Regions from separate parts of the Homo sapiens genome. Here regions 2, 3, 4, 5 and 6 are each linked to region 1. The links are contacts of gene promoters, found by promoter capture Hi-C in blood cells and fetal thymus (Javierre and others, 2016). All regions are on one chromosome and are shown on one strand. Each heading gives the region's core, a stretch centred on a gene start or on the middle of the fragment in contact. The rest is flanking DNA. Distances are from core to core; before and after follow the strand shown. Region 1 holds the start of ZFP2 (ZFP2 zinc finger protein). Region 2 has its middle 27 kb from the start of CLK4. Region 3 has its middle 36 kb from the start of ZNF354C. Region 4 overlaps ZNF354C (zinc finger protein 354C). Region 5 has its middle 11 kb from the start of MSANTD5. Region 6 has its middle 13 kb from the start of ZNF879.

The links. Contacts are between HindIII fragments. The CHiCAGO score rates a contact against its expected background, and 5 or more counts as called.
Region 2: a fragment that was not itself captured here is called in contact with the fragment with the promoter of ZFP2 in region 1 in 2 of 17 cell types (megakaryocytes and erythroblasts); the score reaches 5.5 in megakaryocytes.
Region 3: a contact is called between a fragment that was not itself captured here and the fragment with the promoter of ZFP2 in region 1, in 11 of 17 cell types (M1 macrophages, erythroblasts, non-activated CD4 T cells and 8 more). The highest score is 9.3, in M1 macrophages.
Region 4: a contact is called between a fragment that was not itself captured here and the fragment with the promoter of ZFP2 in region 1, in 12 of 17 cell types (M1 macrophages, M0 macrophages, erythroblasts and 9 more). The highest score is 12.0, in M1 macrophages.
Region 5: a fragment that was not itself captured here is called in contact with the fragment with the promoter of ZFP2 in region 1 in 2 of 17 cell types (M1 macrophages and erythroblasts); the score reaches 7.0 in M1 macrophages.
Region 6: a contact is called between a fragment that was not itself captured here and the fragment with the promoter of ZFP2 in region 1, in 1 of 17 cell types (non-activated CD4 T cells). The highest score is 5.3, in non-activated CD4 T cells.

The regions. Positions count from the first base shown.
Region 1 is chr5:178,894,062-178,897,810 of GRCh38, reverse strand. ZFP2 (ZFP2 zinc finger protein) reads right to left here and starts at 1,898. Exons shown (of 5, transcript NM_030613.4): 1 at 1,837-1,898. RefSeq lists silencers at 1,656-1,705, 1,776-1,885 and an enhancer at 1,996-2,185. The HindIII fragment of the contact is 12,652 bases long and covers 1-3,749 here.
Region 2 is chr5:178,651,933-178,655,681 of GRCh38, reverse strand. No RefSeq gene overlaps it. Among named protein-coding and RNA genes, the nearest start is that of CLK4, 27 kb to the right of the region's middle. The HindIII fragment of the contact is 1,957 bases long and covers 1,016-2,972 here.
Region 3 is chr5:179,094,170-179,097,918 of GRCh38, reverse strand. No RefSeq gene overlaps it. Among named protein-coding and RNA genes, the nearest start is that of ZNF354C, 36 kb to the right of the region's middle. The HindIII fragment of the contact is 2,410 bases long and covers 443-2,852 here.
Region 4 is chr5:179,078,028-179,081,776 of GRCh38, reverse strand. ZNF354C (zinc finger protein 354C) reads right to left here. Exons shown (of 5, transcript NM_014594.3): 5 at 1-3,094. The coding sequence ends at 1,680. Among named protein-coding and RNA genes, the nearest start is that of ZNF354C, 20 kb to the right of the region's middle. The HindIII fragment of the contact is 1,486 bases long and covers 1,358-2,843 here.
Region 5 is chr5:178,706,475-178,710,223 of GRCh38, reverse strand. It overlaps a transcript of MSANTD5 not described here. Among named protein-coding and RNA genes, the nearest start is that of MSANTD5, 11 kb to the right of the region's middle. The HindIII fragment of the contact is 777 bases long and covers 1,593-2,369 here.
Region 6 is chr5:179,035,120-179,038,868 of GRCh38, reverse strand. No RefSeq gene overlaps it. Among named protein-coding and RNA genes, the nearest start is that of ZNF879, 13 kb to the right of the region's middle. The HindIII fragment of the contact is 6,608 bases long and covers 1-3,749 here.

The sequences.
Region 1 (3,749 bases), core at 649-3,148:
TTGCATGGGGTAGGGGTGGATACAGCTGTAAATAAAACAGATAAACTCTCCGCAATCATGGATGTTATAGCCGAACAGGGAAAAGCATCAATGGAACAAATTAAAATTCTACCAACCTAAATGGTTCAAATACACATGTATTTATGTATGTGTGTGTATATATATATTTCATTCAAGATATGAAATAAGTGACATTTCATATCAACGAAGAAAAAATTACTAAGTAACTTGTAACAAAGGCTTACCATTTGGAAAAAAATAAAAATGTACACAAAAAATGAAAGTACTAAGAGAAACTACAAACATTTTTGTAATCTCGTGGGACAGACAGCTTCTCTGCCAGTGATGTCAAACACCCAAACGTGAAGAAAAGGTTTTCATGTGTGACCATAAGAACCTGTGACGTTTCTGCACAGTCAGGAAACATGCTTATGTATCAGATACAAAATTAAAATACAAAATGCAAACTGCGTGAAAATATTCATTAGTGTTCAAAATGCAAATGTAAACAATCCTATCTTTTGCACCTCTCAGAAGTTCAAGAGAATACTAACATTCACAGTTGGTGTGGGTAAATCTGGCACTCTTACACTGCAAGTGTTTATATAAACTGCAACTTTTCTGGAGGGAATAAGACAGGAGGTATCAAAATCCTTACTGTACCCTGGACCTAGAAATTTCACTTTAAGAGATTTATAGAATAAGACAAAATGCAAAGATGTATGTAGCCAGATGGCCTATACTGTTTATAATACTGAAAAAAAAAAAGAAAAAAGAAAACCCTAACACAAAAACCTAAGGAGAGGATTCAATACGACACATCCATACTTTCCCTCACACTCATTAAAATGACGTAGCTCTATTTAAAATCTGGTATAAGTAGATGGTGTCAACATATTCCAATGTTTTTTTCAGATGTATTCTCTATCTTCATTGGGTGTTTAGGCCAGTAAAAAATTACAAGGCTTAAGATTTGTGCACTTCAAACCCCTTACCAAATGCATCTCATGACTCAGTTTTAAAAGATAGATGGAGAAAAAGCTGCTAATATTCATATTTCTGTTTAAAAACAAAGTACAAAGTGTTTCTATGCTTATACACATATCCACGCTGCCATGCAGATGGAGATAGATTTTGAATGATTGTTTTAATCTCAATTTTCCAGTTGTGCTACAGTGAAATCGCTTAAGGAAAAAAAGAAAAGATTCCCCGAGGTCGAAACCTGCACCAGGTTGGCCTCCCCATTCTTATTGTGAGATGGGAGGGGAGCCCACGCCAGCGCTCTCGGAATGAGATCCAGAGGGCGGGTCCGGAGACCCGGTTTACACAAAGGGCAGATGCTGCACAGGGAGACCCAGCCTCTGGCCCAGAATCCCCGGGATGTCCGCGGGTTAGGTTCGCTCCACGGTCGCAGCGTGTCCCGGGACAAAGCTGCGCGCGGCTGGGGAAAGCCAGGGAGGAACCCGGGTCCGAGCGACTCTTGGAACCTTGGGCCCCTCCCTGACCCGTGGTGGCCGGCGTGGCCCTTGTTCGAGCCCCCATCCCCGCTGCTCCGGGGCTGTGATTCCACCTCGGCGCCTGCCCAGGACAGCGCCGAAGGACACTCAGCTGCCAGCGTGCTCCCGCCGCCAGCTCCTGGGGAAGAGGGAGCGCACCTGGAGCCGGAGGCCCGGCGCTCCACAGGCGCAGTGAGGCCGCACCCCCGGCCCATCTGCTGCGGGCCCGCCCCTCAACCCTCAGGAAGCTGGGGCCTCGCCCCGCAATCCGGAGCTCCTCCTGCGGGGGCCTACAAGACTCACGGATGGCGCGCGCCCCCGCCACCGGCCCCGCACTCACCCTCTCCCAGCAGGAGCGGGAGCAGCGGCGACCGACACAGCCGCGACCGGCGCTTACAGCCCGGAGCGCCAGACTACATTTCCCACAAGGCTGCGGGGCTGCAGTGCGGCCAGGCCGTCGGCGTGTGCGAGAACGGGGCCCCAGAGGGCAAGGCTGTGCCAGTGGCCAGCTGAGGTGGCCCACGGTGTGGCCTCTGCAGGTCATCGGTGTGTCCAGGCGGGACGCGGGGTTCCCAGGCGGCCCCTTACCCCGGCTAAAGTCGTCTCTCTGGCCAGGCCTGCAATCTCAGCACTTTGGGAGGCGGGTGGGTGAATCACCTGAGGTCAGGAATTCAAGACCAGCCTGGCTAACATGGTGAAACCCTGTCTCTACTAAAAATACAAAAAAAATTAGCCAGGCGTGGTGGCGGGCACCTGTAGTCCCAGCTACTCGGGAGGCTGAGACAAGAAAATCACTTGAACCTGAGAGGCAGAGGTTGCAGTGAGCCGATATTGCGCCACCTCACTCCAGCCTGGGTGACAAGAGCAAGAGAGTGTCTTAAAAAAAAAAAAAAGGCATTAATTTACCAGCAAATAAAATATTTTAAACTTTTATGTATTTAATAACATAAGATACAAAATACATAAAGCAAACATGGGCAGAACCCATTTTTAATTTTGTTTTCTTTCTTTTTTGTACAGATGGGATCTTACTCTGTTGCCCAAGCTGGTCTCAAACTTCTGGGCTCAAGCAACGCTCCTGCCTTGGCCTCCCAAAATGCTGGGATTATAGGCGTCAGCCACCACCCTGGCCTCAGAGTTTTTAACCTACCTTCTCAGTAACTAATAGAAAAGCTGACAAAAAGGTCACTATAGATATGAAATATTTGAAAAGCAAAATTAGTTTTATGTTAATGAATAGACATGTAGACTACTCCACCCCAAAACTGAAGAAAACACATGGAAAAGCATATATTTACTTAAGAAATGATCTCATACTAGTCTGTAAAGTAGCCTCAACACATTTCAAGCAATTGGTATCACACAAGACCATATTCTTTGACAATGTAATTAAGCTAAACATTTTTTAAAAGACTAGAAACTTTTTAGAAAAGATTTAGGTAAAGGGAATATTTAGAGGAAATTTTGCAGCCTTCAAAGCATACAGTAAAGAAGAAAAGAAGGCAGATTGGGTACAACACATCTAATTTTGTTCCCTCCTAACACGTACTGATATAGTTCAGGACACACACACTCACTGCCAAAATATGGCACCTCATCATTTGAGAAAACAGCAGAAACAGGAAGGACTTTTCCACACATCTCCCACGAAGCAGGTTGTAAAACCTAGGAAGAATTTCCTAACGTCCCCTGAAGCAGGTCGTAAGATTCTCATGTGAGATTTGCACTCCCTATACCTGGAGGAAAGTAACATCTTTATTGCTGAAGACACACAGTCACAGAGAAAACTCTTGAACAAACAGGCCTTGCTAAGTTGCCCCCAGTGTATTACTATTAGATCATATCCTCTTTGTCCATTTATATTTCTCTGTGACTTCATCAAATTTAGCATAAAAATACACAACTTTAACTGTTTCTTTGGGACTTCATTTCCTTATGTAGGCTGCTGTGTCATGTAAAACTTGTATTAAAGAAACTTGTATGTTTTGCTCTTGTTAATTTGTCTTTTGTCTTAGGGGTCTCAGCCACCAACATAGGACGCGCAAGAAAAATGTATTTTGCCTCCTCTGTACCACTAAAAGCAAATGTAACAGATTGTTTGAAAACTTGTTAATTCACAAGGTCAGGAAAAACAAGTAAGGACACACCAGCAACATTTTAAATCTTGGAAACGGATGTTATTTTCTTGGCAAACCTGAAATAATGCCAAATCCCAGAGAGCTGTAAGAAAGGTAAAGGCCAGGCTGGGTACAG
Region 2 (3,749 bases), core at 745-3,244, 240 kb after region 1:
TCAGGATTCTGTTTTACTGGTTTCCTTGTAGCACTTAAACAGTGCTGCCAAATCAGTTTGGAATGTGTCGTCATTGGAATGCAAAGCCGTACCTCACACTGGTCTAAAGTGGGTGAAAGCACCCCGGGTTAGTGCAGGAGGGAGCAGGCCTTCCTCAGAACTGAGGGTGCACACACCACGCACACATGCTGCTCTTGTCGGATTTTCCCGGCAGACACACAAGCGATTAGGCACCAAAATAGCCAACAAAAATTGCCTTTATTGGAAGGGCATGGTTTACAGTTCCCAGATTCTTTTTTTTTTTTTTTTTTGAGACAAAGTCTCACTCTGTTGCTCAGGCTGGAGTGCAGGGGCGCTATCTTAGCTCATTGCAACCTCCGCCTCCAGAGTTCAAGCAATTCTCCTGCCTCAGCCTACCAAGTAGCTGAGACTGCAGGTGTGTACCACCATACTCAGCTAATTTTTGTATTTTTAGTAGAGATAGGGTTTCACCCTGTTGGCCAGGCTGGTGTTGAGCTCCTGACCTCAGATGATCCACCCACCTTGGCCTCCCAAAGTGCTGGGATTACAGGTGTGAGCCACTGCACCCGACCAACGGTTCCCAGATTCTTAATCCAACAAGAGTATGACAGGCTTGTAGCTGTTGTCCGTTTCTTCCTGCTCACCTTTCTCATGGAAGGAATTTCAAAAGAAACCACGAGGTGTTTGTATGTGTTTATCTTTTGGAAGAACAGAAGTATGGGAAATGTATAAATTGAAATGGCTTCTAAACTAAATAGTTTTTAAAAAAAAGACAGCTATATTTTAGCATAAGAAACAGTATTAGATTGAAGAGATTCTCTACATAACACTTTGTTTAGTATAAACAGAAATTAATCTGTTCATGGTCCTAAATTGGGCTCAGAGTTTCTCTTAGTGAGAAACCCATCCGTTTATACTTTCCCATATGCCATTTTTGAAAGATTCTACCCTAGTAAACTAAAATTTTACGGTTTATGAATAATACTGTTAAGCTTCCTTTCGGTGAAGAAAGCTACTACTTTAGCTGTAGTAATCAAAACGGTATGGTACTAGCCTAAAAATGGACACCTAGACCAATGGTGCCGAGTAGAGAAGCCAGGAATAATGCTCTTCCCCATACACATGGTCAACTTACCTTCAACAAGGCACCAAGAAAATAAAACAGAGGAAGGATGGTCTCTTCAATAAATGGTGTGGAAAACTGGATATCCACAGGCAAAAGAATGAGACTGAACTCCTTTCTTACATCATACACAAAAATCAACTAAAAATGTATGAAGGATTTAAACGTAAGACCTGAAACTGTAAAACTTCTAGAAGAAAACGTAGAGGAAAAGCTCCTTGACATTGGTCTTGGTGATAATTGTTTGGACATGACAACAAAAGCACAGACAACAAAAGTAAAAATAAACAAGTGGGATTATATCAAACTAAAAGGTCTGCAGAGCAAAGGAAACAATTGAAAAGAAAACCTACAGAATGGGAGAAACTGTCTGCAACCCACATACCTGATAAAAGGTTAACAACCACAATATACAAGGAACTCAAACAGTTCACTAGCAAAGAAACCTCCAAATAACCCAATTTAAAAATGGGTACTGGCTGGGTGTGGTGGCTCACGTCTGTAATCCCAGGGCTTTGGGAGGTCGAGGCGGGCAGATTACTTGAGGTCAGGAGATTGAGACCAGCCTGGCCAACATGGTGAAAGCCTGTCTCTACTAAAAACACAAAAATTAGCTGGGCGTGGTGGCGCATGCCTGTAACCCCAGCTACTTGGGAGGCTGAGGCAGGAGAATCGCTGGAACCTGGGAGGTGCAGGTTGCAGTGAGCCGAGATTGCGCCATTGCACTCCAGCCTGGGTAACAGGAGCAAGACTCCGTCTCAAAAAAAAAAAAAAATCATAATCAGAGATCACCTCATTGGGAGGATGGCTATTATATTAAAAACGAAATGGCCGGGCGCAGTGGCTCACGCCTGTAATCTCGGAACTTTGGGAGGCCGAGGTGGACGGATCACCTGAGGTCAGGAGTTCGAGACCAGCCTGACCAACATGGAGAAACCCTGTCTCTACTGAAAATACAAATTAGCCAGGCATGGTGGTGCATGCCTGTAATCCCAGCTACTCAGGAGGCTGAGGCAGGAGAATCGCTTGAACCCGGGAGGTGGAGGTCGTCGTGAGCCGAGATTGCACCATTGCACTCCAGCCTGGGCAACAAGGGCAAAACTCTGTCTCAAAAAAAAAAGAAAAGATAAGTGTTGGCGAATATGTGGGAAAACAGAAACTCTGATACATTATTGGCGTGAATGTAAATTGGTACAGCTATTATGGAAAACGGTGTGGAGGTTACTCAAACAATTAAAAATAGAACGATCATATGATCCAGCAATCCTAATTTTGGGTATTTATCCAAAGGAACTGAAATCAGGATCTCAAAGAGACACTGCCCTCCCATGCTCGCTGCAGTGTTATTCACAATAGCCAAGATATGGAAACAACCGACATGTCCATCGACGGAGGAATGGATGAAGAAGCATGGTATGTATATGCAATGGAATGGGGTTCAGTCATAAAAACAGAAGTGACATTCTGCCACTTGTGACAATTTGGCTGAGCCTGGAGGACATCATGCTAACCGAAATAGGCCACATACAGAAAGACAAATACTGCCTGGTTTCAGTGTGATGAGGAACTTGAAATGGTCGAACTCATAGAAGTAGAGAGCAGGACGGTGGTTGCCAAGGGCTGGAGGAGGAGAAATGGAAAGTGATGGTCAAAGGTACAAAATTTTAGTTATGCAAGATAAATAAATTCTAGAGACCTACTACAGCATAGTGCCTATAGCTAACAATACTGTCTTGGATACTTAAAATTCGCTAAGAGGGCAGATCTTCTATTAAGTGCTCTTACCACAAAATAATAATGATAATAAAAAAGGGGGTGGGAGGAAGCTTGGGAAAGTGATGGGCATGTCTATGGCCTTGGTGGTGGTGATGGTTTCACAGGGGTATACTTATGCCTAAATTCATCGAGTTGGATACATTAAATATGTACAGCTCTTTATATGTCAATCATACCTCAATAAAGTGGTCTTAAAGGAACAAATACTTTTTATACTCCGTCTTTAAAATAATAAAAGGGAAAGTCTTATTCTTTTCATAATTATATGGCTCTTGGGAAAGATACAGTAAGCAGGTGTACCCTGCATGGCTGAGAAACTGAGTGGAAGTGTGATTTACTTTTATTTATTTATTTTTTCTAAGATGGAGTCTCACTCTGTTGCCCAGGGTGGAGTGCAGTGGTACAATCTTGGCTCACTGCAACCTCCGCCTTCCGGGTTCAAGCGATTCTCTTGCCTCAGCCTCCCGAGTAGCTAGGATTACAGGCGCATACCACCACGCCTGGCTAGTTTTTTGTATTTGTAGCAGAGACGGGGTTTCACCATGTTGGACAGGCTGCTCTCAAACTCCTGACCTCAAGTGATCCACCCACCTCAGCCTCCCAAAGTGATGGGATTATAGGTGTGAGCCACCCACCTCAGCCTCCCAAAGTGCTAGGATTACAGGCGTGAGCCACCGCCCGGCTGGAAGTGTGATTTATGTGTTTGATTTACTTCCATTGTTCTGTAACCCATTCATTCACTCATGTCTTGCACCCACTTTCATAACATGAGTTTAATAATTTGTAGCAATTGTCCTAAGGCTGAGTATTGGCTTCTATAGAACTCGTT
Region 3 (3,749 bases), core at 398-2,897, 200 kb before region 1:
AAATTGTCTATTTCTAACAATTGGAATTAGACTAAGTGCCATTTCCAATAATGTGTGACAAACCCGTAACACAAAGTTTTAGTGGTGAAAGAGAATAGGCATTTAAATTCCTAGCAAAGTTCCCAAATGTGGCAGTTTCTTCCTTATTTCTAAAGCAATTTAAACTACAGTGTTTCTAATATATATCACCATAATTCTGTATATACAGGGCTTTTGATTTTCAGGCAAAAAAAAATTACTGGATAGACAAGGGTCATGAAATAAATATTATAAAGATATCAAAGTTCAATTAACCTGGTTAATATATCAAAAGTTGTCATAACCTCAAGGAGAAATTGACAAAGCCTCCATCCTAGGGAAAAAGTTTAACATGTCTCTCAGTAATTGATAGCTCAGCAGAAAAAATAATAATATATAATTTGAATAATACAACAAACAAGCTTGATCTAAGGAAAACACATATATCTCTGAGCCTCCAACAATTGAACAACTCACATTCTTTTCAAACACATACAAAATATTTATGACAACTGACAACATATTGGACAATTAAAGAATAATAATAAATTGAAATGATTTTTTACTTAATGTAACTTAACTACAAAATTAAATTAGAAATCAATATTTTAAAATTTAGCTAAAATATATTTTTGAAATTTAAAAATCATACCTCTAAATAAATCACAGGTCAAAAAAACATTGAAAATTAGAAAATTCTGGTCACCAAGATGGCAGAATAGAAGGTAACCTGCTCACATCTCCCCACAACAACAAGAATTCTGCGCCTATCCAGAATCAAAAGTCTCTCTGCCTCAGGATTCAGATAGGAGTTTGTGAAATATTGGTGGAGCCCAAGATCTTGGAGGATTATTTTGAGAGTGCAGACTAACACCAGTTGGCTGATCCACCAATCTTGTTCCTGGGTTCAAGCCCAGAAATGGCCCAGTCCCCCAAGGGGCTTTGGCTACCGTACTGTTTGACTTTGAACCTGCAACCAAAACCATCTGTTAAAGGATCCAGAAGGAATTGTGTACCCTAGTGCCTTGGTGGAAAGGCATCTGCCTCGTCACCTCCATCTTAGAAGTAAACCTCAAAGTTGCCTTGTGGCTCAGCTCCAGTCCCCATCACTCCCATGTAGGTCCTAGCTCAGAGTTGCTCACACAAGAACCCAGAGGGAGACTCACTCATACCTCAATCCCAGGAGTCTGAGCCTCCCTGACAGGCTTGCCAATCTTATCCCACAACAGATCCTGAGGGGAACCAGTCTCAGCTCCAGCCCCTCCCACTGCAATCAGAGAACTATCTCATCTGTTCCAAGATCTGCTGGGAGATGCTCACCTATCTGGGCCAACATAATGGGCTCTCCAGCCTTTGTCCCACAGCAGATTCCAAGGGGACCCAGTCTCAACTCCAGCTCCTCTTGCTGCAGTAAGGAACCCATTCCACCTATGCAAAGACCTGCTAGGAGTCACACCCATCTGAGCCTACGGTACAGTCTTCTAGACTCAGATCTGCGAGGAGGCACACCCATCTGAGCCTACAGTACAGTCTTCTAGACCCAGGTCCCTGGCTAGCATTCCCACACAGCCCCAGTATATCCATTCCTTGGGTCTTCCCCAGGTCCATCTGGGACTCAAAACCTCAAAGTCCTCATGAGACTCACAGCAAGCCTGGGCATAGAGCATCTTCCAGTGCTGAGATGGGTACAGTGGTCACAGGCTCAGGGAACTCAATAGTGGGCTTAGAATCCCTGGAAGGCCCTCTGAAGAAAGGCAGGCACAAATGAGGCCAGACTGTGAAGACTAAAATAAATCTTCAGTCCCTAAATGCACAGACATTGTTGCACATCCACAAGCTCAAAAACATTCAAGGAAATATGACCTAACCAAACAGAGAAAACAAGGTGCCAGAGGCAGACCAAAGTGACGGAGATGTTTAATGTCTCAGATGAAGAATTCCAGGCTGGGCGCAGTGGCTCACACCTGTAACCCCAGTACTTTGGGAGGCCGAGGTGGGCAGATCACGAGGTCAGGAGATCGAGACCATCCTAGCCAACATGGTGAAACCCCATCTCTACTAAAAATACAAAAATTGGCCGGGTGTGGTGGTGCACGTCTGTAGTCCCAGCTACTCGGGAGGCTGAGGCAGAAGAATCACTTGAACCCAGGAGGCGGGGGCTGCAGTGAGCCGAGATAGCCCCACTATACTCCATGCACTCCAGCCTGGGTGACAGAGGTGAGACTCTTGTCTCAAAAAAAAAAAAAAAAAAAAGAATTCCAAATAGCTGTTCTAAATAGCTCAACAAACTTTAGGAAAACACATAGGATTAATTCAGAAATGTACCAGCAAATTTAACAGAAAGATTAAAACAAAAATTTTTTTAAATGTGAAATCAGCCAGGCACAGTGGCTCATGCCTGAAATCCCAGCACTTTGGGAGGCCAAGGCTGGTGGATCACTTGCGGTCAGGAGTTCAAGACCAACGTGGATAACATGGTGAAACTCTGTCTCTACTAAATACATGAATATTAGCCAGGCATGGTGGCGCACACCTATAATCCCAGCTACTCAGGCGGCAGAGGCAGGAGAATCGCTTCAACTCAGGAGGTGCAGGTTGCAATGAACCAAGATCATGCCATTGGATTCCAGCCTGGGCAACAGAGCAAGACTCCATCTCAAAAAAGAAAAAAATAGTGAAATCCTGGAGTTGAAAAATACTATGAAAATTTCAATAGAGAACATCAACAGCAGAACTGATCAAACATAGGAAAGAATCAGTGAGCTCAAAGACAGACTATTTGAAAATACATGGAAGAGAGAAAGAAAACATAATGAAAAGGAATAAAGAAAGCTTAGGGGATCTATAAGACAACATCAAACCAGCAAATATTCAGATTATTGGACTTAAAGAGGGAACTGAGGAAGAAATATAGGTAGAAAGCTTATTTAAAGAAATAATAATAGAAAACTTTCCAAACTTGGAGAAAGATACAAATATCCAGGTACAGGAAGACCAAAGGTTAGCAATCAGATTCAACCCAAATAAGAATTCTCCAAGACATATAAACTCTCAAAGGTCCAACATAGAGAGGGGATTCTAAAAGTAGCTAGAGAAAAGAAGCAAATAACATGTAAGAGAGATCAAATATTCCTAGCAGAAGACTTCGCAGTAGAAACTTTACAGGCCAGGATGGAGTAGGAAGATATATTTCCAGTCTGAAGGGGGAAAAAAATCTGCCAAGCAAGAATTCTATACCCAGAAAAGCTATCTTTCAGAAATGAAGGAGCAATAAAGACTTTCCCAGACAAACAAAAGCTGGGGCAATTGATTGCTACTAGATTGGACCTATAAAAAAATGCTAAAGGGATTCTTCAAACCAAAAGAAAAGGACATTAACATGATTGTTATACTAATGTAATAATCATGATATGTAAACTACTTATATATTTACTAAGAAGACTAAAAGACAAAACTATTTAAAATAACTACAATTTGTTAAGAGATAGGCAATATAAAATGCAAATTGTGACATCAAAAATTCAAAATGGGGGAAGAGAGTTAATGTGTACAGGTTTTTTCTTTGTTTCTTTCCTTTTTGTATGATCAGAGATAAGTTGGTATCTATTTAAAATAACTTGTTATATCTATAAGATGTTTTCTGTAAGCCACACAGGGGAAAAACTGAAATCCTTTCCACTAAGATATGGAATAAGACAAGGATGCCCACTTTCACCATTTTTATTCAATAT
Region 4 (3,749 bases), core at 851-3,350, 180 kb before region 1:
AACATGGAATCAGCCATTTCTCCAAGGAACCCTGGTTCCTTTTAGTGGGGAATGGCATTTAGAAACCAAAATTTGGGTACTAAGCATGCTCACCACTACTGGGTACAATGTTAAATAGTGAGGTCTGTTTAAAAGCCTCATTTTCTTTGTAAATGTATTTAAATACATAAAATAATTACTTTCTGATAAGCTAAAACCAGTCGGTTAAGAAATATACTATACTGACTGCTTGAGTTTAATTCTAACATTTTTCTCAGAAGGTCTAGCTAATTGTATTAGAATTTTTTTTAATGATACCAACTGTGAATTGAATGAAAAATCAAATATAAAATTGGAGGAAAAACGCCTGGGAGGAATTAAACATTTAAACTGATGAAAGGAATGCTTAATAATAAACTCTTCATATATAACTTTCCATAAAATAATTAATTCCTAAAATATGTGTAATAAGAAGGCAACCTTATATGTGAAGCCTCCAAAAGCAATTACACTATCTGGACCTCAGCTAGCTTTAAGGATTTAAGTACAATTATAACAAAAGCAGGCATAATTAGGGACTCATAAGAAAAAAGAATATAGTTGTGAGTCAATTATTAAGATTAAGGTGAGAGGAAGCCCTTAAAGATAACACAGTAACTTTAAATTACTGCAACTATGTCTAACCAGGCTACAAAACAAATAGTACTCTTGGGACCTCAGGTTGGAAACGAGCCTATAATGATCACAAAACACCAGAACCAAAGACCTAGATTCTAGTCTTGACTCTGTTCACTAAGTTCAAATCCTTCGTTAGTACAATGAAAGGCTATAATTAAACTAAAATCTCTCCTGGCTCTAATGAGCTACCAGACATGCAGCCTGAGATTCTGCCAAATACATCCCTTCTGCAACAGATAACAAAGTATGTGCTTGACAGTCTTTCCAGCTGCTTCAGTTAATCCGCCTTCTACGGTACTGTAATAGTACTCTGTTCAGTTATATAAAACCACATCAATTTAAGAAATAATGGAAGAAAGTAAAAGAAAGAGAGTCTACCTTTGGGCAAGATTTTAAGAACTAAATTCTAAATCAATAAAACTACATTTTTTAATAATAAAGGACTTTTATGTTTACACACACACATGCATATGTGTATATATGTATGTTTACATATATAAGTTGCTGGTGGGACAGCTCATATAAAGAGCTTTATTATTTCCATGTGAAGAGTTAAATTTAAAATTCCTTTTTATGTTTAGCTTCTCTTTATGAAAAGAAGTGCCTCCTATGTTAGCCAGCTATTTTAAAGAAGGCCACACACTTATTTACATTATTAACTCAGTGACTGTTTTTAAAAGAAAATTCACATATTGAAGCTTACTCTTTTAAAGGGAATATGGTCTTATGAGAGAAACAAAATGTATATTCAACTATTTTTCATGATTTTTAAAAAGACCTTTTACATTTTTTCTATGAATTAAATACTCATAGGTTTTTAGATACCTTAGAATTTATGGTTCTTTTAAAATTTAACAAGTCAGTGCTCTTCATAGTCTCACTGATCAATTTTATCATGACTTAGTGGCAACTAACATATTTCCTTCAGGAGAAGTAAAAAAGACAAATCTATTAGGAGTTTGTACCCTATTTATTATTCCCTTATTCCCCAGTGAGAAGTCTTGGATTATTTGAGAGATGAACTAAACCTCATAGGCTTTATCTCCTTTAAAAAATCTCTGATACTGGGTAAGTGAGGAGCTGCAGATGAAAGGTTTCCCATATTCCTTCCACTTATAGAGTTTCTCTTTCGTGTGAACTTTTTTGTGTCTACAAAGGTTTGATCTGTAACTGTAGGCTTTCCCACATTCCATACATTTATACAGTTTCTCTCCAGTGTGGATCCTCTCATGTTCGGTTAAAAATGAATACTGGCTGAAGGCCTTTCCACACTGATTACACTGATACGGTTTCTCTCCAGTATGAATTCTCTGATGCCTATAAAGGTTAGATTTGCAACCAAAGGCTTTCCCACATTCCTCACATGTATAAAGTTTTTCCCCAGTATGAATTTTCCGATGTTCATTAAAGGATGAATACTGGTTGAAGGCTTTCTCACATTCGTTGCACTGATAAGGTTTTTGTCCAGTGTGAATTCGCTGATGTTCGATAAGGGTTACAATACGTGTGAAGGTTCTCCCACATTCCAAGCATGTATACAGTTGTTCTCCAGTATGAAACCTCTGATGTTCAGCTAGAGATGTAAACTGGCTGTATCCCTTCCCACACTCACTACATTTATAGGGTTTCTCACCTGTATGGATTCTTTGATGCCTGTGAAGTTTTGCTCTACAGTTGAAGGCCTTCTCACATTCGCCGCATTTATAGAGTTTCTCTCCAGTATGAATTCTCTGATGTACAGTGAGGGTTGAACACTGGCTAAAGGCTTTACCACATTCCCTACATCGATACGGTTTCTCTCCAGTATGCACTCTCAGATGTTTGATAAGGGTTGAACTGTTGCTAAATGCCTTCTCACATTCATTACACTTGTAAGGTTTCTCTCCAGTATGAATTCTCTGATGAGAAAGAAGGGATGATCTGTGGCTGAAGGTTTTTTCACACTCATTACATTTGTAGGGTTTCTCACCTGTATGAATTCTCTGATGTTCAATAAGATGCAGATTCTGCTTGAAGCTCTTCCCACATTCATTACAGATGTGAGGTTTTCCTCCTGGGTAAATCTGGAAGCATTTCATGAGATCAAAATTCTGTTTAAAATCTTTCCCAAATGTATAATACATATTGGGTATCCTTTCTATAGGAACACTCTGTTGTGTGACAAGAGCTGTATTTGTAAATAAGCTTTTCCCCAATTCAAGACTTGTATGGTTTCCATCTTCACTGATGGTTTTCTCATGCGAATCTATCATTTGTCTAAGAGGTTTCTTCTCTTGCTCTTCTTCTATCTCGCTCTCAAATTCCACAGCTTCTTCAAAGTTAATGTCCCAGTGACCATCCTTAATGGATTCTTTCTTTACCATTCCCTGAGATGTTTCTTCTATAAAAATGTCCTGTCTATGAGGCAATGCTTCTGTTTCAAGCCAAGTCTTGAAACCTAAAATGAATCAGAAGAATTAATGCCTCCTCTGCTGGAAGAAACAAACTGATGTATCGGTGAGACAAAAAAACTGGTAACAGTATATATGAAAGAAGAGTGATACAATCAGATTTCAAATGCTGACTTGAATCTTGGGAAGAACAGGATGGGATAAAGGAAAGTGAGGTAAACAGGTTAAGGAATGGCATGGGAGAATACACTGGACAAATTAACAATGAAAATGAAGCGATTCCACCTGGATATAGTAAAGTTAGATGCAGAAGAACAGGCTGAGTAGAAGATATGAGGATACAGAAAAATGCCAAATGATAAGCCCACGCTGAATACCATGGGATACTCCACTCTGTCATCATTTTCCACTATGCATATACCAGGCAATGAAGTAGGCAGCCTGTCCACCTTCTCCTTCTTACTCACATGTCCCTTTCATTACGTTTTCTCCCCATGCTCTCTCTGAAACTCTATGCCCGATAATCTTTTAAATATTTGGATTGGTTTTCTTAAATTTCTTTACTTCATGTGACTGTGATTTTATATTGTAGTCTGTGAAGGGGGAAACAGTCTGTTAAAGAGAAGACAGGCCGGGCGCGGTGGCTCACACCTGTAATCCCAGCACTTTGGGAGGCAGGTGGATCACCTGAGCTCAGGAGTT
Region 5 (3,749 bases), core at 732-3,231, 190 kb after region 1:
GACATTACAGTCCTAAGTTTTTCTCAACAGTAAATATTTTTTAACTTTGGAGCAGGTACTATACAAGTTTACAAGTTTTAAAACTGTACAAGTTTTAAGACAGACACAGGCTTTTCTTCAAGAAGCCATGAATTGGGAAGGGGATGGAGTTGGGCTAGCAAATGAGCAAGCAGATTATATTGCAGTTTTTGTTGTTTCAGTAGGCAAATAAGTTATGACAATATGTTCCACTATGAAAATATTGTAAAGATTTGCACAGGATGAAGAAAGAGACTCATGAAGAAAGCCTGGAGACATCAAAGCTTTCCAGGGGCAATGATGCCTGGGCTATATTTGGGGAGAATAGTAGGAACTCCGAGGGAGACAGAAGCATTCCGATTAAGAGGAAACAGCATGCGCCAAACCACAGGTGGATAATAGGACATTTGGAAAACTTAATTTAGAACTAGTGAGCAGGAAAATGACAAATGTTAAAGCTCGAGTAGAAGGCAGAAGCCAAATCACAAAAGGCCTTATTTGCCAAGCTAAGGAGTTTGGATTTTATGGTAAAATCGGTGGAGTCAAAGATGGTAAGCAAGGGAAATTCCATAGAAGATAAGCGTATGGGGTTGAAGAAAGCTGATGACTGATGCCACCCAGGAAATCTGGGCTGTTTAAATTCAAGTAATAGGTAAATGAGGGTTCCAACTCAAACAGGGACAGCATTGATGGAGAACAGGAGACAGATAATCATGTATTAGAATAAATAAGGCATGGTTTTCATAGGCAAATAGGTGAGAGTGGCAAGTGAGGAGAAAGCTGACTCACAGGTAGGGTTGCCAAACGTCCTGTATTTAATGATTTTGTCCTGAATCCTGTATTAACTTTGTTAGGATGCCTTAAATGTATTCAGGGTTTCTCCCCTCATTAATGAAAAATCAGCACTTTGAGCTACGGTTCTGCTTCAGTAATTGGCGCTTAAATCGCTTAAGTGGCAATACAAGTTGGAAATCATACCTCCACAAATAAAGATCTGAACCATCTCTTATGTTTTATCCTATGTGTTTGACTGAGGGAAGGCAAAAGGGGGAAGTGAGAATAAAAGTACTTGTTTTCCGTATTAAAGAAAGGAAAAGACTGTTCTTTTGGCCAAATTCCTAAGTTGTAAAATAATCCCCAATAATTAGATCTTTGGATCAGTACACGTGGTCTGAAAAATCAATGATGGCCTCGCTGCCAGCAGCCATGCTTCTGAAATCAACTTCCTGACAGCCTCCAGCTTCTGAATGCCACTTGAGTGCTGCTTCTAGACCACGGTTGGTCAGCAAGTCCCTCCTTCCAGTGACCGTGCTTCTGGAAGTTAGCCAGTCGACAACCGTCTAATTCCAGTGACCACACTAACACGCTTGAAAATCTAACAGTCCATAAACATCCCTGCCTCTGAAAATTCGCCAGTCCCAGACACTGAGCTGCTTAAAATTTTGGATAAGATCAGCTCTGGCTTTCTTCAGGGATCCTGTTACTGCAAACACAGTTCTCCCTTGCAGGCATGCATCAAGTTCGACTTTTCTGTGTCACATATCAAGTTCAAGTTTATTGTTAGTTTGTAAGCTTCCAACCTTTCAATAGCTCAGCCTCAATTTATTGGTAATTATGCTTCACTCTTGTGAGTGAGATGATCGAAATTAGTATTTTCAATTATTGTTATTAACTTATTTTTTATTTTATATTTTGTGTTAAGGATACTTAATATGAGATCTACCCTATTGCCTATTTTCATTTATGTATATTTGAATCAAAATGCAAGTATAAGTTTCATGATTAATTTTTAAAATATTTGGTATCAGAGAAAAGATGTTTTGAAGCTCTTTCTACAGTACACAATTGTTCATTCAGTATTGAACATATTGGAAAGTCAGATATAAGGCAGGATATACTAACAGCTAAGCCTAAGTGATAGATGATTTCCTCAAATAGTGCTAAAGAAACGGATAAAGTAACAAATTTTCCGATGAAAGGAAATTCAGATAAAAATAAAACAACCATAGCAGAAATTGTAATGACTTTCCACACTCAATCTTTTCAGCTCAAATGACCAATGGAAACACACCAAAAGTATTTCCTGCTTCCAAAATTGCAAACGAATTTTCAAGTGCCAGGATAAAATCTGCAGTAATAAAAATGTAATCTTTCTGTTTACTATTAGAGACTATATAAAAGATCTAAAATGTCTCTTTTTACAGTATAACCCCAGATGCAAATAATCACAATGAGAATTTTTTTTTTTTTTTTTTTTTTTTTTTTTTTGCCTCTGCAATGTTTTTCTTTTGAAAACCTGTGCTTATAAAGCTATCTTATCCCTTCTAGATGAGACCTGGGAAATTGAAGCTTTTTGCAGAAACTAAATTGAGTTAATAAGTCAAATTGTATTCCTTTGGTTGATATAATACAAATACAAATTTATGTAGATGTGTAGAAGTGCAAACAATTTTTTTTTTTTTTTTTGAGACGGGGTCTCGCATTGTCGCCTGGCCTGGAGTGTAATGGTAAGATCTCGGCTCACTGCAACCTCCGCCTCCCGGGTTCAAGCGATTTTCATGCCTCAGCCACCCAAGTAGCTGGGATTACAGGCACCTGCCACCATGCCCGGCTAATTTTTTTTTTTTTTTTTTTTTTTTTTTTGTATTTTTAGTGGAGATGGGGTTTCACCATGTTGGCCAGACTGGTCTCGAACTCCTGACCTCATGATCCACCCGCCTCAGCCTCCCAAAGTGCTGGGATTACAGGAGTGAGCCACCGCGCCCCGCCAGAAGTGCAAACAATTGTTATTCAAAATTAAAGCAAAGCCTGAAGTAGGCTGTAGAAGGTGTCCTATCCATATTCTGCGTTTCTGCATGATGCTACACAGACAACCTCTGATAGCCATCCTATTGACACTGAAGTCATCATGAAATTGTTCCCTTCCTCGGCATTTAAACTGTTTAAACTGAGCAGTTAAAGGACTTTTGTGATTCTGTTGTCATTCGATATTCTTCTATTCTTCATTCTTCAATTCTCTCTTTCATTCTCTAGCACTCAGAAATTTGTTGGAACCCCCAGTTTCAACTACAACATGCAAACGGCTTGGAAGTAGTCACCCCTATCCTTATAAGAAAAAGCTAGTCAAGCTGAAAAGCAGTGACTTTTATCTTTCTGAGAACTGAAGTCACAACTGTGAAATCTGGAGAGACGGGTGTATCCAGAGACACAGCTGAGATCTGTTTACTTGGAGCCCACTGGAGCCAAAACTGGTCGGAAAACTAACAGGTAATTTTGATGAATTGCTGGAGGTTGAATATGGACTAAACTGAGAATGTGGAACTTCTGGGTCCATAGTCATAACGGGTCCCGCATACCGCCACTGCCATTAGCTCCAGGAATCCCAGCAGATTCCCAAGGTCATGATCTGAGAAATATCCCCTGAGGGCTGTGGCAGAAGAAGGGGAATCATTGTGAAATACACCCAGAGTCTTCTCCATAAAAGCCGACACTCTAGGGAAAAAAAGCTTGCCAGAGTCTTATGCTAGCTGGAGGAAGGACATTCCCCATTCTCTCTATCCTTCCTGTCTCACCTAAGGGAGAGGAAACTGTCAACATGGCTCAACACTTTGAGGATTCCAGTAGATTGGAATCCTGCAAGCAGGAGAGGGAGGGCAGGGCAAGGAGGCAAAGTTATACCACTGGAGAACACTTGAGTAGGTCCCAGCCCTTGGACACACGAGTACTGACAG
Region 6 (3,749 bases), core at 500-2,999, 140 kb before region 1:
GCATCAGACAGGTCCAATGAAGGGCCAGACTAGAAAACAACTGGCCTGTTCATTTTTCCTAGACCTATTCATGAGAAAACACCTGATCATGTGGCAGCCAGTAATAGCCCCAAACCACATGAAAAGAAGGGCATTTTAAGTAATTTCTTTGAATACAGTACATCAGGCATGTCAACCATATTATAAAAGTTAAAACATATTCTGCATTTTTCAGGTTGCTTTGAAACGACCTGTTAGGAAGCCATGAAAATGGACATTTTTCTTTTTGCCTAGATTCTGAACAAGTCTGTTGAGAAGTGTTGAGTCTTAACAAGAGAACTTGGGCAAAGAAAATGTGTTGACAACTTAAAGATGATTGTTAATTCTTTCTCTTCCTATTTATCTTAAGGTACACATAATTTACCGGGCACTTCCTTACTTTGGTTAGGAACCAATGTTCTCTTTATCTGGAGATCTAGGGAGATGAATGAGAAGGGAAGATTATAGACAGGTGAGAAAAGTGTTGATAGCTTTGTTAATGAGACACATTCCTGTTGAGCAGTGGCCTGAAGAAGGCTCTGATGGTGGCAGGGCTGTTAGGTACAACCTTTAAGCTCATTCCATATTAACCTTCATGTTCACATCACCCTGGGTGATCAGGTTTCAGGATCTCTGTTTTATTCCTCCTCAACTCACCAGGATTGAGTTGGACAAATTCTCTTAAAGTTCTTTTTACTGACATACCCAATGGCTCTGGCTGGCTGGAGCAGCCTCTTCCTGAAGACGGAGTCTCTCTCAAGCACCAAGCAAGTAGAGGAAGACTCTGTGCTTCTCCCCAAGTCATCATCTCCTTGCCTCACACCAGAGTTTTGTAAAGTCCCTGTCCTTTATGTATGTGGTAGCTAGTCTCCATACACAGTTCCCCAGTGAACCATGCCCTTGGCATTCAGTTTATTAAACTACTCTTGAATACGGGCCAAATTTGACTCATTCTCAATCAATTGTATACAGAATTAAAGCTGGCTTTTAAGATCTGCAACTTCTACCTAGCTCTCTTGGAATACTTGCTCTTGGGACACTCCCTCTCAGAAATCAACCCCCATTCTGTAAGAAGCCCAAGCCACATGGAGTAGCCCAAGCCACATGGAGTAGCCCAAGCCAGCTCTCACCCAGCAGTTACCAGCAACTGCCAGCCATCCTGAAGCCCAGTTTAGCTTCAGCCCCAGCCGCTCTGATGGCACAGCTACTAGACAGCAAGTAAGAACCTCCCAGCTAAGCCCCAACATGGGCTCATGACAGACAATACATTGTTGTCCAACACTACATTTGGGGCGATTCGTCCTACAGCAATGGATAACTACAATATATTCTCAATCATTTGATGTTATTTAAATATCTTTAAAACATGTACATATCTTTTTTTTTTTTTTTTTTTTTTTTTTTGAGGAAGAGTCTTGTTCTGTCACCCAGGCTGGAATGTAGTGGCACGATCTTGGCTCACTGCAGCCTCTGCCTCCTGATCAAGTGATTCTCCTGCCTCAGCCTCCCGAGTAGCTGAGACTACAGGCATGTGCCACCACACCCAGCTAATTTTTTGTATTTTTAGTAGAGATGGGGTTTCACCATGTTAGCTAGGATGGCCCTGATCTCCTGACCTCGTGATCTGCCTGCCTCAGCCTCCCAAAGTGCTGGGATTACAGGCGTGAGCCACTGCGCCCGGCCAGTATATACCTTTTAACATATAATTTTGCAAAAAAATTGTATCATACCCTATGTAGTTTGCCAATGACTTTTAAAAACTCAAAAATGTGTTTTTCAATCTATCCGTTTTTTTGTTTTAGAGACATTGTCTTGCTATGTTGCCCAGGTTGGTCTTGGACACCTGGGCAACAGTGATCCTCCTGCCTCAGCAGAGTAGCTGGGACTACAGATGTGCTCCACCATGCCAGCTTCATCCATGTTTTGCTTCACTTTATTCCTTTTCACTGCTGTTTCTACTGTGTTAATATTCCAAAATATATCCATTCTCCTAATTAATGGACATTCAGACTACTTACAATCATTTGGTGTGATGATCAGTGCTGCTAAGAATATCTTTATACATCCCTTGATGCCCACATGCAATCATTTCTCCAGTGCATCTATGCAGATGTCCACAACACGCACAAGTTCAGCTTTATGTCAGTCATCTCTGACTTATATTCCCACTACTACTGAATTTCTTATTCCACATACATCCTGAAGCTCAGTATTGTCACACATCCTAATTTTTCCTCATTTGTGGTTGTAAAATCATACATTACCGTGGCCTTAATTTGCATTTTAACTACTAATGAAGTTAGTTACCTTTTCGTGTTTCTGGAAATTTGTATTTTCTTTTCTGTGAAATAAGAAGTCATGTATTTAGCCCATTTTCCTAGTGTTATTATTGATTTGTACAAATTAGTATTTCTGGATTATAGTAGTTTTGTTGGGCATACTGTAGAAAGATCGATTTTGTGTCTTGACTTTTTTCACCTCCGTTTTTGTATACTTTGGTAAGAAGTTCTTTCATGTGAGCAAATAAATCAAAAATTTTATATAGCTAATTTGTAGCCTGTTTAAGAAATCTTTCCCAATCTCAAGAACATAAAATTATTCCTTTACATATTCCTCCAAGTTATTCAGTTTTTGCTTTTCATATAATTGTTATGGTGAGGGTAGGGATCTAATTTTTTTTCTGTGAATCATTTCTGTCTCAGAGCCAATTTTGAACAGTTCATTCTTTTTGTTTTTTGAGACAGTCCTGTCACCCAGGCTGCAGTGCAGTGGCATGATCTCGGCTCAGTGCAACCTCTGCCTCCTTGGGGTCAAGCAATTATCTTGCCTCAGCCTCCTCAGTAGCTGTGATTACAGGCATGTGCCACCACACCCGGCTAATTTTTGTAGTTTTAGTAGAGACAGAGTTTCGCCATGTTGACCAGTCTGGCCTCGAATTCCTGACCTAAGGTGATCCACCCACCTTAGTCTCCCAAAGTGGTGGGATTACAGGCGTGAGCTACTGTGCCCAGCTACAGTTTATTCTTTCTCGGTATTTCTTGTCATTAATGCTTCTAACATCTTACCATTCTTTTTCAGTAGGCTTTCTATAAATGAACTTTTATCATGTTATTAACTATGCTTAGGTGCTCTGGATTACGTTTGCTAATGATTTGCTTGGGATTTCACCTCTTGTTCATAGGTAATATTGGCCTATAATATTCATTTCTTGTGCTTTACCTGGCTTTGGCACTGGGTTATATTAGCAAAATTGTGCTATTACATTATCTCCTCTGGGAGACTTTCCATAAAACTTGATCTATCTGTTACTTCAAGTTTTGACAGATCTTGTTTTAAAAAATAACTTGGCCTAATGTTCTCTTTGTGTGATTTTAATTCAGATTTAACTTTTTGATGATTTTAAAACTACTAATAGTTAGGGAAGTTCTACTTCCCTAGGAATTTTTACAACTTAGGTAGAGAAAAAAAACTGAACAGTTGTGGGAAGTAAGGATTAGAGATGAAGCATTCAATGATCCAGAAAAGTCTGTTCTTCACAAGTCTGAAACAATGAGACTGAGTAACCCAGGAGGCAAAAGCTGTATTCAGTGATTTTTGCTATGCTCCCAATAACACTTTCCTATTTTTTTTTTTTAATGAGATGGAGTCTCGCTCTGTTGCCCAGGCTGGAGAGTAGTGGCACGATCTCGGCTCACTGCAAGCTCCACCTCCCAGGTTCACATCATTCTCCT